3 separate regions of the Homo sapiens genome follow, and regions 1 and 3 are each linked to region 2. Evidence: promoter capture Hi-C in 16 types of primary human blood cells and fetal thymus (Javierre and others, 2016). All regions are on one chromosome and are shown on one strand. Each heading gives the region's core, a stretch centred on a gene start or on the middle of the fragment in contact. The rest is flanking DNA. Distances are from core to core; before and after follow the strand shown. Region 1 overlaps DIS3 (DIS3 exosome endoribonuclease and 3''-5'' exoribonuclease). Region 2 holds the start of MYCBP2 (MYC binding protein 2). Region 3 overlaps BORA (BORA aurora kinase A activator).

The links. Contacts are between HindIII fragments. The CHiCAGO score rates a contact against its expected background, and 5 or more counts as called.
Region 1: a contact is called between a fragment that was not itself captured here and the fragment with the promoter of MYCBP2 in region 2, in 1 of 17 cell types (naive CD8 T cells). The highest score is 8.6, in naive CD8 T cells.
Region 3: a contact is called between a fragment that was not itself captured here and the fragment with the promoter of MYCBP2 in region 2, in 2 of 17 cell types (non-activated CD4 T cells and total CD4 T cells). The highest score is 8.4, in non-activated CD4 T cells.

What each region holds. Positions count from the first base shown.
Region 1 is chr13:72,774,491-72,778,891 of GRCh38, reverse strand. It overlaps DIS3 (DIS3 exosome endoribonuclease and 3''-5'' exoribonuclease), which reads left to right. Exons shown (of 21, transcript NM_014953.5): 3 at 512-705; 4 at 1,399-1,472; 5 at 2,800-2,967; 6 at 3,517-3,681. Among named protein-coding and RNA genes, the nearest start is that of DIS3, 5.2 kb to the left of the region's middle. The HindIII fragment of the contact is 7,790 bases long and covers 1-4,401 here.
Region 2 is chr13:77,324,018-77,328,472 of GRCh38, reverse strand. MYCBP2 (MYC binding protein 2) reads left to right here and starts at 1,379. Exons shown (of 83, transcript NM_015057.5): 1 at 1,379-1,999. The coding sequence starts at 1,698. It overlaps LOC127898562, which reads left to right and starts at 1,485. Exons shown (of 1, transcript NM_001414702.1): 1 at 1,485-1,568. The coding sequence starts at 1,485. The coding sequence ends at 1,568. LOC107984564 (a long non-coding RNA gene) reads right to left here and starts at 1,428. Exons shown (of 2, transcript XR_001749930.2): 1 at 1,338-1,428; 2 at 275-1,209. RefSeq lists enhancers at 900-1,229, 2,900-3,079 and silencers at 1,420-1,799, 1,840-1,959. The HindIII fragment of the contact is 13,146 bases long and covers 175-4,455 here.
Region 3 is chr13:72,732,149-72,736,123 of GRCh38, reverse strand. It overlaps BORA (BORA aurora kinase A activator), which reads right to left. Exons shown (of 12, transcript NM_024808.5): 4 at 1,119-1,164. Among named protein-coding and RNA genes, the nearest start is that of BORA, 6.2 kb to the right of the region's middle. The HindIII fragment of the contact is 192 bases long and covers 2,315-2,506 here.

The DNA.
Region 1 (4,401 bases), core at 71-2,570, 4.5 Mb after region 2:
TTTTCAGTCTCTACATAGCTTCAGCTATTAGTGTTTACCATGGATAATTTATATGCATTATTTATTAATGACTGTAGAATTCTGATTATAAATGATCTAATTATACTATTTGTAGCTTTTAGGAATTGCTATTAACCTACAGTTTGAATGAAATCTGATTATCATACCTGTGAAATTGTATTATAATTTGTCAACAAACTATTATTTAGTGTCTCAACCTAAAGTATAAATTCTGATCTTGAATTTTTCTTTTTAGGAAATAAAATTGTATTAGCCTTTTTCTTGTCCCCTTAATAACATAATTTTCTTCTTTTCCAAGCAAATTGTTTCTTAAAAACTTAATTATAAGAATCTTGATTTCTTCTCTGAGGTGTACATCTGAATACATTCAAGAGAAAAGATATACCATTGACTTTTTCTAGTTTAGTGGTTAAGCATTTATGTGCTAAGAGTTTTCACATATCCTTGTTTCTACTGATTTCCTTTTATTTCGTTTTTTCTTTCCATTTAGAGAAACCTATGTAGAACAAGAACAGGGAGAAAATGCTAATGACAGGAATGATAGAGCGATTCGAGTAGCAGCAAAATGGTACAATGAACATTTGAAAAAAATGTCAGCAGACAACCAGCTGCAAGTTATCTTCATAACAAATGACAGGAGAAACAAAGAGAAAGCCATAGAAGAAGGAATACCAGCTTTCACTTGTAAGTCTAAATGTAGAAGTACTTAGTGCATGTTTGCAAATGCGTGTAAAAATAATCATTAGGCCTATAGTCAGATGTTCACTTTACTATTTAGTATTTTCGTAGTCCTATATAACTTCATGTGATATTTTTGTATTTTTAAATTTCACATAGTTTTTAACCTAAATATGTTGTGCCCAGTGGCTGTTAATTTTCCCCTCACTATTTGCAACTGGTTTAGCAATGAAATCTCATAAATATACTGGAACCCCTGCTTCTGCTTAGGTATGATCACATCAACAGATTTTTGGGTTTTGTTTTTTAAATAAATTGAGGCCAGGTGCTGTAATCCCAGCACTTTGGGAGGTCAGGGCAAGAGGCTTGCTTGAGACCAGGAGTTCAGGACCAGCCTGGGCAACATAGGGAGACTATAGCTCTACAGGAAAAAAAAAAAAAGCCGTGCATGGTAGTATGTAACTATAGTCCCAGCTACTCGGGAGGCTAAGGCAGGAAGGTAGCTTGAGCCCAGGGATTCTAGGCTGTAGTGATGTGTAATTGCGCCGCTGCACTCCAGCCTGAGAGACAGAGTGAGACTCTCAGTGTGTCTCAATGAATGAAAGAATGACGTGTATACTGTCGCAAACAAGACTATCCATTTTTTTCATATCTAAGGAAAAAACACTTATCAAAAACAACATAAACTTATTTTTTCAGGTGAAGAATATGTAAAGAGCCTAACTGCTAACCCCGAACTCATAGATCGTCTTGCTTGTTTGTCTGAAGAAGGGGTATGTTTTTGTTTTGTTTTTGAAAAGTAAAAATATTAAAATAGCCACTTTGGAATATTAGGCATATAGTTACCAAATTTAAAAATTGGAATGTCGGTGGGTAAGCTGGATTTGGAATAGTTGTGTTATAAACAGGAGTGGATGTCATAGGCTTATTGAAATGCCATTCCTAAAGGAGTTAACTTTCTAAAATAGATATATTCCCATTAACCTGAGTAGGGCCTGGTACCTGGTAGCACTGTTTGGTTGAGGAAAAAATGAACGGAGTCCATGGCTGATTTGTGAATAAAGAGTAGCTGCTGACAAATGAAGTGGCAGGCACTGCAGACAGAGGAAAGAAGAGGGAGGGGAGTGTCCAGATAGTAAAGACCTAGAACTTATTCTGTAGGTTAGTAATTTTTCAATTGATTTATAAAGATCTCCCTGAAGGGCTGCTATGAAGAGGAAAGGATTCTGAGATCCCTTCCTTATATGTCAGGCTAAGAAAAAGTAATGGTATATGAATGTGGATTGGTGGAGCAGGAGAGAATGATTGGAAATGGTATTTGTTTGTAAGACCACTCTCATGTCAGTGTGTAACATTAAGCATTTTATCCAGGAAAGATTAGAGGCAGAGAGGTGAGTAAAGGAGTCATTACAATAGCTGATGTGAGAAGGAGTGCTAAGGGAATAATTAAATTCTGAGCATTCATTTTCTTATATATAAATATATAATGTTTAGCAATAATAACTTCATAGTGTTGTTATAAGGATCAAATAAGATGATAACTGTAGCATTAATACAATTTTCATCCTAGTGCCTGGCACATAGGTATGGTAAATATAAATGGTAGCCCTTGTTATAGAAATAGGTTTTAAGTGATAGGACATTATACATAAATCCAGTCTTTACACTTCTGTCATCCCTTCTTACCTTTATGATACTTTATGAAACCAAAAGGAAATGAGAAGATAAAAGTTGGGTTTGATTTTTGAAATACAGATTTAGTATTGCCCTAATATGTAGCCACTTAGTTATATATGACTATTTAAATTTAATATGTATTAAAAATTCAGTTTCTTGGTGGTACTATCTGTCTTTCAAGTGCCCAAGAGAAACTTGTGTCTAGTGGCTACCATATTAGAGATCGCAAAATGAATACTTCCTTCATCATAGAAAGCTGTTTTTGTTAGCACTGGCCTATAAGAAACACTGCTATCTTCTCTCCTATTCAGAGTTGTGTATATCATAATGTAGATTTCAAAAATTCTCTGATATTAATAATAGTTGTGTATTGAGTGAACAGAAGACTTATTAGCGGCATCTTTTGGTTTGCTTCTTTCATAGAATGAAATAGAAAGTGGAAAAATAATATTTTCAGAGCATCTTCCCTTAAGTAAGCTACAGCAAGGCATAAAATCTGGTACATACCTTCAAGGAACATTTAGAGCTAGCAGGGAAAATTACTTGGAAGCTACAGTATGGATTCATGGCGACAATGAAGAAAATAAAGAGGCAAGTATATAAATAAATTCCTTATACACTAAAATAAAGATGATATTTTATATATTATGAACACTTAATGGTAAATACTATTTGTGTAACATATGAGGCTTCACATACTTTAAAGCAAATAGTAACTTTTTTCTTTTTTTTTTTGCAGTGCTCACAATTTGTCAGGTAGTTTTTTAAATCTTTGCGCATGGCATTTCATTTAATATTCAACCCAACCTATAAAAACTAGGTAGTGTACTCTTATTTGACCAATCAGGACTTGAGATTTAGAGAGCATAAATAATTTTTCCAAAGTCTCTTGTTACCAGTGTAAGTTATGATGGAGCCATGAACACAGCCTGTGTTTTCTGACTTACATTTTTTCTACCTGGTATTGAGAAATTAAAGTTGTGGAATTAGGGACACAATAGAGAAAGAAAATCTATAAAGGAGAAATAGAGATTCCATAGAGATATTCAGAGTGTATGTAAATATCTGTTAGATGATCTTCCCTTTATTATATTGCCATTAAAAATAATTTGGGCACGTGCCCTCTGTTGTTTTAAACAGATAATCTTACAGGGACTTAAACATTTAAACAGAGCTGTTCACGAAGATATTGTGGCTGTGGAGCTTCTCCCCAAGAGTCAGTGGGTAGCACCATCTTCTGTGGTTTTACATGATGAAGGTCAAAATGAAGAAGATGTGGAGAAAGAAGAAGAGACAGAACGAATGGTATGAATCTAAGCAGGATTTTTTTTTGTCTGTGTAGCTTTGTATTATTAATATGTCAGCTTTGGAAAACAAGTTTCATTGCTTTCAGATTTATTGCATAAAATCATAGTTCTGTATATTTAACGCATGTCATACACATGGTTTTTTTCTCTTCTATGTAGTTTTCTTTTATTGTCTTAATTTGCTCAAATAAATGGGTTTAAATGCAAACAGACTGTTAGTATGAGTTAATACAAGTATGAAACTGAAAATCTGTGACAGTCAAGTATATTATTAGACTTAGTGAGATTTAAGTAAATATGTGTTTAACATTTTCTGAAATGCTTTAAGTAATGTTTTAGGAAATGTTTTAGAAAATGCTTTAGGTAAAATTCCCTTAACATAATAGACGTAATTCTGGGCCATTATATTTGGGCAACTTATCTGATACCATATTTATTATGAAGAGAATACTTTCAGTTATTTCTTATGATATGCGCTAAGTCTACTTGATATGGCCTATTTCTGTATTTTATAATTACAATATTATAAATAGTTGGAATGCATGTAACAGTTTTTTATTCTTCTTTTTCCATCATTTATATTCATTGCTCTGGAGTCTCACTATAAAATTATCCATGGAGAGTCCAGGCCTTTGGATAGTGTTAAGAGGTGAAATACCATAGGAACTTTTGTAATTTCTAATAGCAGACCCTCTTTATTTGGGTTTTTATTTTTTAT
Region 2 (4,455 bases), core at 130-2,629:
AGCAAGCTCTGAAGGAACTTAGGTAAGGAAACAAGACAAATACAAAAACTTAACAGGGCTAATTACAGTACTAAAATACTATGATTCCACATGTCTTGTCCTTTGTTCCTATGTTTATCCCACTGCTAATTATCTTTAAAAAAACTAAATGAAATCCATCCATTATTTAAAGCTTCAGAAAAAAATGCATTGCTTTCAGCAACCTTCCACCCTAAAACTAGAATTAATTTACTTTCCTATTCCTTGTTGTTTGCACTTCTCAAACACTAAGGAGGATTTTTTAACATTTATTTTATTTTTTTTTAAGAGAAGGCCATCCGAAGAAGAGGCACAGATATAAGAACTAGTACATAGATGAAAGATACAGTACTGGGATGACAGAACTTATAAATTATTTTGTCAGGACTGTAAATTAGGAAACTCTTCAAATTGAGAGTCAAAGGATAAAACGTAGTAGGAATCAAAGTGCATTGGCACGTATATTTCTAGAGCATATACTTAGATGGGGTTCGTAGGTTAGCTTGGAACAAAGGACTGAGCAAATGTTACTTTTTTATAGACAACAACAAGATATGTGATGGATCTGACATTTTCAGACGCTATACAGTCTCCGTCACAATTATTGTTTCAGATCGCATTCAAGAATTATCTTTAAAAATGTAAGTTTGGGCAGAAAAAAATAAACCATTAAATGACCACTGCCAAGAGATAAAAGTGCACTCTTAGGTGAGTGAGGAGTCAATAAAAAAGAGTAATTTAAAAAATATTATTGCTCCGTTGAGAACAAGAATTTGGGAATGACTCTGGCTTGTGAATACTAGCCTATCTGTTATACTTTCACACACAAAATACTTTCACACACAAAAAAGAATGTGCTAGATTACTACCTGTCTTTGTAAGTAAAAGCTGTGTTAAACAAGCGTAAATCCTAATGACAAAAACCATATAAAATAAGATCGCTAAAGGCACTTCTAATTGGGATGGTTTTCTCTGCCTTAAACTCTGAATTAACCAGCACAATTCACAGTAAATCTTCCTGTTGGCAGCAGAGCCTTGGAGAAGAGGTAGCAGAAGAGCGTGCCACTCCTCCTCTGGCGATGGGCACGTTCCCCCTTGCTTTCTGGTCCTCGTTCTTCCACCTGGAGGGAACCTGAAGTCGAACGTCAGTAGCTGACAGCCTCCCCAGCACTTTCCTTACTCTTCTTCAAGCTGCCAGTAAAACCCGGAGAAGTGGACTACTTCAGATTCCGCACAACCCAACAGCCCCAAACCCAAAGCCCCGAGGCGGAGGGAGTGGTGGCGGAGAGGGGGTGGGGAGGAAAAGGGGCGGCAGTTACTGAGCATGTGCGAGGAGTGGCGCATGCTCTGTGAGGCCGGCAGCTTCCCATTGCGGGTAGCCCCGGCGGTGGTGGCGGTGGTAGCGGTGGTGGCGGCGGCAGTGGCGGCACCGCCTCCTCCTCACATTCCCGGGGTGGCGGGGTTAGATGAGCGGCCCCAGTAGCGGCGAGGGCGGCGCGGGGGGGAGGAGGAGAAGAAGGAGGAGGAGAAGGAGGTCGCTGTCTTTGTAGTCTCCCTGCTGCGGGAGCCAGAGGCCGCCGCCGGAGCCGTCGTCGTTGGAAAAGGGCTGTGTGTGCGCGCGCGTGTCTGCCCGCCCGGCCCGCGGGGACGAGGCGGCGGCGGCGGCGGCGGCGGCGAGGATGATGATGTGCGCAGCGACTGCCTCCCCCGCCGCCGCCTCCTCGGGGCTCGGCGGGGACGGATTCTACCCAGCCGCCACCTTCTCTTCCTCCCCGGCGCCGGGGGCGCTGTTCATGCCGGTTCCCGACGGCTCCGTGGCTGCTGCGGGGCTGGGGCTGGGGCTACCCGCCGCGGACTCCCGGGGTCACTACCAGCTGCTGCTGTCAGGCCGGGCCCTGGCCGACCGCTACCGGAGGATTTATACCGCTGCGCTCAATGACAGGGACCAGGGGGGCGGCAGCGCTGGACACCCAGCCTCCAGGTGCGTCCCCAGGGTGCCCTTCCTTGCGCCCCATGCCGCCCTTCCTTGCGCCCCATGCCGCGCGTGCACCCGCGTGTGTGTGTGCTTGCGTGTGTGTACCTGCGCATTTATTGAGCTTTCAGTCCGCTCTGGATGTCTGTTGGCAGGAGCACTTATCGAGATAGGAGGGTGCGGTGGCTGCAGTTTCTCGTGTGTGTGTGTGTGTGTGTGTGTGTGTGTGTGTGTGTGTGTGTCTGCCTGCCTATGTGGGGGGATAGTGAGGGGTGGTAGGGGAACCTGTGATGCTGGAAAAGGCGATGGTGCTGGTCGGCTGTGACACGTGTGTGTATCGTTGAGGTAGGAGGTGGCATGGGTAGAGAGGGTAAGAGGATGATACACGAAGAGAATTGCAACAGTGGCAAGGGAAGTGGCGTTTTCAGTGTCTCTGCCGCAATGTTATTTGCACGTGCCGCCTCTCCCATGACATTCCTTCCAGCCCTTTCCACCTCCCTTCAATCTGCCTTTCACCAAGAGGAGTCATGGTATAGATTGGTTGAGTTTTGGATAAGCAGGCCCGAGGGATAGGCGTGAGGTTTGCTTTAAAAAGATTTATGAATAAGGGACGCAGATGGAGATCTGTGTGGATGCGAAAGGTGTCTGATAGAGATTTTTAGAGCTGTACTTTGATAACCGGGCCTTTTGGTCTTCTAGAAATGAGGTTGCAGTTACTCTTGTGATCTGATGTCCCATCGGCCATTTCTCTTCATCCTCTGTTCGATTTCCTCTGTTACTTACAGGCTTTAGAGTAGAGAGGGTTTTGTAGGGAAAAGGGGAAAACTGCAGAACTTCAGAATATGACAGCTGGTACAGCGTTCAACTGCCACTAGCTAGAAAATCTGAATAGCGCGTAGATTTGTCTCTTTTACTTGGGTTGGCTACACCTTCAGCTTCCTTGATGTAGATGTTCAGTTGGTTTCATTTTCTTTTTCTTAAAATGTGGGTGCTTTTTTTTGCTGAGGGCTCTCCTATTGTTTTCTTTTCCATGCCCTTACATGCCGCATACCCTGAAGGTTGGTGACTGACTTGTTTCACCAGCTTTGACAGTGGTAATTGGGAGTTGGCTTCATCTTTTTTTTCCCACAGCTTCTTGCAGTACATGGGGAAAACATAGTAGGAAACTGTCAAAATGAGTTAAAGAGTTTACTGTTATTTATTGAATGTGCAATTTATTAGGCAATTGTTAGGTGTCTTTTTCTCCCATTATGAAAGGGACGAGGCTGTAAGTCAGGTATTTGTAGCTTATCACTAGGTATCATGGCTTATCTGTTGGAGACAGTTGTAAAGCTGGAGCTTTGTTCACACTTTTTCTAGGTTAACCAGTTTTCTCATGTCTGTGATTGTTTACAGGATTGGGCACAGCAGTAGTTTTACCATATGGATGTAAACGTGTGTAACTATTTTTTGCTATCTGAACTGAAGGCCAGAATGGCACAAGTCTGTTTCTTGCTAATGCTTTTGAAAATAGCACAAAACTACGTGAGACAGTTTGCCCTGATAATTAGGTATAATTTTGATCTGTAAATCTCTAAATTATGGCACCGCAGGAACATCTTTACAAACTCCTCTCAAAGAATTTAAATTTATTTTGTGTATGGTTTCCAGACTTATGCAATAATTTTTGACTTGTATATTCCTGTTTTGACTTCCTACTACTAGTGTAATATGATTTCTGTGTATCTAGAACTATATTAACGGTTTTAGACAAAATTAACATAGATTAATCATATAACATTTGTGAATGATTTTTTAGCCCTTGGTCCATTTTTGTACAAGCCGTCAATGAAAAGTAATGAAGAATTAGTTCAAGTATTTCAAGAACTACTCATGGAAATCAGCATTATGTTATGATATTGCCTGCTAATGCTTGTTCAACGCAACATTATTGTTTATTTAAGTTCACATTATTTTATTACAAAAAGTAGCCTGCAACTACTCTATTGATGATTTGATTAAGAATTAAATCACATTTCTTATTAAAGATGTTGAGGAAAGTAGACTTGGGGTTTCGGCTCTGAATGAATGATAGAATTATTTGTATAGGGACACAAGTTAAAGGAGAAGATGATATCTTTTAGAGAGACTGAATGGAGCAATAATAGAGAATGAAGCTCTAGTGAGCATCAGGTTTAAAGGTGTGAGAGAAAGGAGACAGTGAAGGAAACGGAATCAAAATTAAGAAGAAAATCATGAAACAGTAGCCTCTGTGGCTCTAGGAGAGTGGATTGAAAATTCTCAGAAGTGGTAAATGTTGAAGAAAGTGAGAACCGTTTTCAGGTCATTGATAACTTTTGAGGAAGTGGTCAGAATAGAGGGATGTGGTGAGGAGTGAATGGAATGTGTTTTTGGTAACTCAAGGGGATTTCAAAGTTGAGGGAAGGATATTCAAGTATAGGAGGTTGGGTGGGATATGCAAATAT
Region 3 (3,975 bases), core at 1,161-3,660, 4.6 Mb after region 2:
ATGAAAACTGTGCAGTTACTAGATAGAAGAAGAAGTAGGTAATGTTTAGCAGGAGTAAACATAGTCTTTTGTGGTACGGAAGAGCCAAGTACGGCTAAGGAACAGAGGAGGGTTGAGGGGGCTAGAGGGGCAGAAAAGTAAAAATCAGAAATGCTGCCATCACATAAAGACTTTCTGAGGAAAGAACAAGGTAAGTAACCCTTACTTAGATGCTGGGCCAGGCGCAGTGGCTCACGCCTGTAATCCCAGCACTTTGGGAGGCCAAGGTAGGCGGATCATCTGAGGTCGGGAGTTCGAGACCAGCTTGACCAAGATGGAGAAATCCCGTCTCTACTAAAAATACAAAATTAGCTGCGTGTGGTGGCGCATGCCTGTAATCCCAGCTACTCGGGAGACTGAGGCAGGAGAATCACTTGAACCTGGGAGGCGGAGACTGCAGTGGGCTGAGATCATGCCATTGCACTCCAGCCTGGGCAACAAGAACGAAACGCCGTCTCAAAAAACAAAAAATAATAATAATAATAACCTTATTTAGATGCTAAGAAAGGCAATTCAACAGACATAAAAAAGCAAAAAACTTAATTATTTTTATTTTTTAGAAAGCCTACATTATGATATACCTTTCCTGTTTAACAGTAAGAGATTTTATTTCATGAATATCTTAAAAATCCAAAGTATTAACAAAAAAAGACAAAGCCATTCCCAATGCCAATCTAGACTCTGAAGGCCTGAGAATATTCGACTTCCTCTACATAAACTCCAACTTGAAACAAAGTTTGTGCTAATCAACATTTTGAAGGCACAAGGAAGACAAATTGTGCTAGGTCCTGAGAATGAAAGGATGAAGTACAGTATTGGCCAAAAAAGATTGCGTCTAGGGGACAGAAACACTAAACTGATCATTACAACAGTATGCAAGTGCTATGCAAGGTACTGGGATAGCTGGAAATTATTGGTCTTAGGACAGTACAGAAGGGTGCTTTATATAGATGGGACTGTGAAGGGCTTGGAGGGGAGATAGGACAGTGAAGGAATTGAAGAAAGTCTTCCTAAAAGAAGTGATGTACATGCAGAATTGATCCTTAACTGATTTAATGATCAGTAACAGTTTAAGTTACCTCTTCAATGGCTTTTTGTCTTTTGTCTTCCACATCTTTATCTATTCTATACAAAGATAAAGAAGAAAAATAACCATGCTATTACTTAAGCTTATTGAACATTTTAAAAAATAACCTTTCAAATAAATAATCTCCCTTCATTGAAAACTGGCAAATGTTAAGCTCACTTTATAATTAATACTAGTGGTATCTTGTAACATTTAGTAACATTTAGGCAGTATTCTGAAATTCAGCAGTTAGCTGTTAGGCTTACCTCCCTCTTTTCCATTCAAAGTTTGAATGCAATGATACTTTATTTCAAAAGACTTACATTGATATTAAATTGCTTTTAACAATATAAATTTGATAAACTTTGTCCCTTAATACAAATTAAGAAGTATTTAATTCAACATACATCTAAAAATTGTCCAAAGTTTTTCTCTTCAATTATAACAAGTTTATCATGGCAATAATTTTAGAATCAACTTTTACTGTAAAATAGATGAGGATAGTTCACAGTTCTAAACAGTCAAAAATATTAACTCTGAAATAAAACACTGACAATATAACATTTTTTCCAAATGAATTTTTTTTTCACTTTGATACAATCTGCAATTACTGTTATATAAACTTCTCAGCTACAAGATTTAATATAAAATTTTGGGTCCAAGCACAAAGCATATACTTGCCAAGGACTCAGCAGTTAGCTTTCTAGGACCACTTCTTTATTCCATTACAGGAAAGAATCCTTGCCTTCCATCAGTAAATTGGTAAGACATATTTTTTTTTACAATTTAAAATTATTTTGTCTCAGAATTTTTTCTTTAACTTTTATTTTAAGTTCAGGGGTACAAATGCAGGTTACACAGGTAACTTGTGTCACTGGGGTTTGTTGTACAGATTATTTAATCATCCAGGTATTAAGTCTAGAATCCATCAGTTATTTTTCCTGATCTCCCTCCTCTCACCCTCCACCAGGCCCCAGTGTGTGCTGTTCCCCTCTATATGTCCACATGCTCTCATCATTTAGCTCCCACTTATAAGTGAGAACATGAGGGGTTTGGTTTTCTGTTCCTGTATTAGTTTGCTAAGAATAATGGCCTCCAGCTGCATCCATGTCCATGCAAAGGACGCGATCTCATGCTTTTTGTGGCTGCATAGTATTCCATGGTGTGAATTTTTTTCACATATAGACTTGCTCATGGCTTAATAAAGCTTATATGAGAATGTATACATTTCAGAAATTAAGTAGATTTTTCAAGTGGGAGAAGTATGAGAAAATAAACTACAGTGTCAACCCACATATCCCAGCTTGAACAGTAGCCATTTTGAGGATAACAAAATGGCCTTCATCTTATCAATGGTTCTCTTCATCTTATCATGGTCAAAATGGCAGCACATAACAAGCTTAGCAAATAGCAAGTAAGCTCTGAACTAGGATTACTGCATTCAGAAACCTTTTGCTACTTCATCAGAGGGACTTCAAGAACATGAAATACTCAGGTGATTGCTGGAAACTGTAAAAATCACTGTGGCCAAATACTCTAGAGTCAGATCAAACAAGATTCTAAGAAGTCATACAGGGGAGAGCATCCTGACCAGCATACCACTGAACACCAGTATGATGCATATAGGTATAGGTGTGGCCTGAATGTTGAGCCTTTGCAGGGTGGCAAAGGAGAGGGGACCTCAGGACTGGTCACCTACATGGCCAAGACTCACCTGCTTACACTGGTATGCTTTTCAGTTACAATTTTCTGTGTGGATGGTGGCATGAAAAGGATGGGAAGAATTGAAGTAGAGGGCTAATATGTAAGAAGAGATACTGAAAGACACTGCTTGTTTCTAAGGATGAAACGAGATGCTCTGTGAAGAATATATTGACTATCCTTGGTAGAAGCCATAACCATTCATTGAATTATATTATTAAATTAAATTATAATATTTTCCCACTCTTTTCCATTCTTCTATATGATAAATCTATGTACTAAGAGACACCAAGATTATCTTTATAAACCTTTGCAGACAATATATCATTTAGTAGTAAGAACAGAAGCACTGTGTTACAACTTTGGTCTAATTATATTTTTGACTCTTGACTCTTAGTATCTTGTACTTCTTCAGTGTTTCTTACAGTCCCTCACAGTACTCAATAAGTATCTCTTGACTGATCAATATAATAATTGTCCATCATTCAATATATTGAAGAAATGAGACAAAATAATTAAGCATAATTAAGTTCGTGTGAAACAAAAAATTAGTCACTGTGACTCATTTGCTTTTAGATATTCATCTCACCTTCTCTTTCAAAGGTATTATTTATTTACTTATTTATTTATTTTATTTTTTTGAGATGGAGTCTTGCTCTGTCCCCCAGGCTAGAGTGCAATGGCATGATCTCAGCTCACTGCAACCTTTGCCTCCTGGGTTCAAGCGATTCTCCTGTCTCGGCCTCCCGAGTAGCTGGGATTACAGGTGTGCACCACCATGCCCGGCTAATGTTTTTGTATGTTTAGTAGAGATGGGGTTTCACTATGTTGGCCAGCCTGGTCTTGAACTCATGACCTCAAGTGATCTGCCCGCCTCAGCCTCCCAAAATGCTGGGATTACAGGTGTGAGCCACCACACCTGGCCTCAAAGGTATTATTTAAATTTAAGTTAAAATCCTTTCATGCTTCATCCTCATTCTATTCCCTTCCTATTAACACTCTGGGTGGACATTAATTTTATGATTGAATGGTCATCATGTTACCAAGCAAAGAGAAGATGGAGGAGAAAAGCCAGTAAGTATTTACCAGAATATCTCAATATGTGTGCAACGTTGTGTGACTGAATTCTTAAGTCAAAGGGAAAAGGATTATCCTTTGTTTTGGACTAA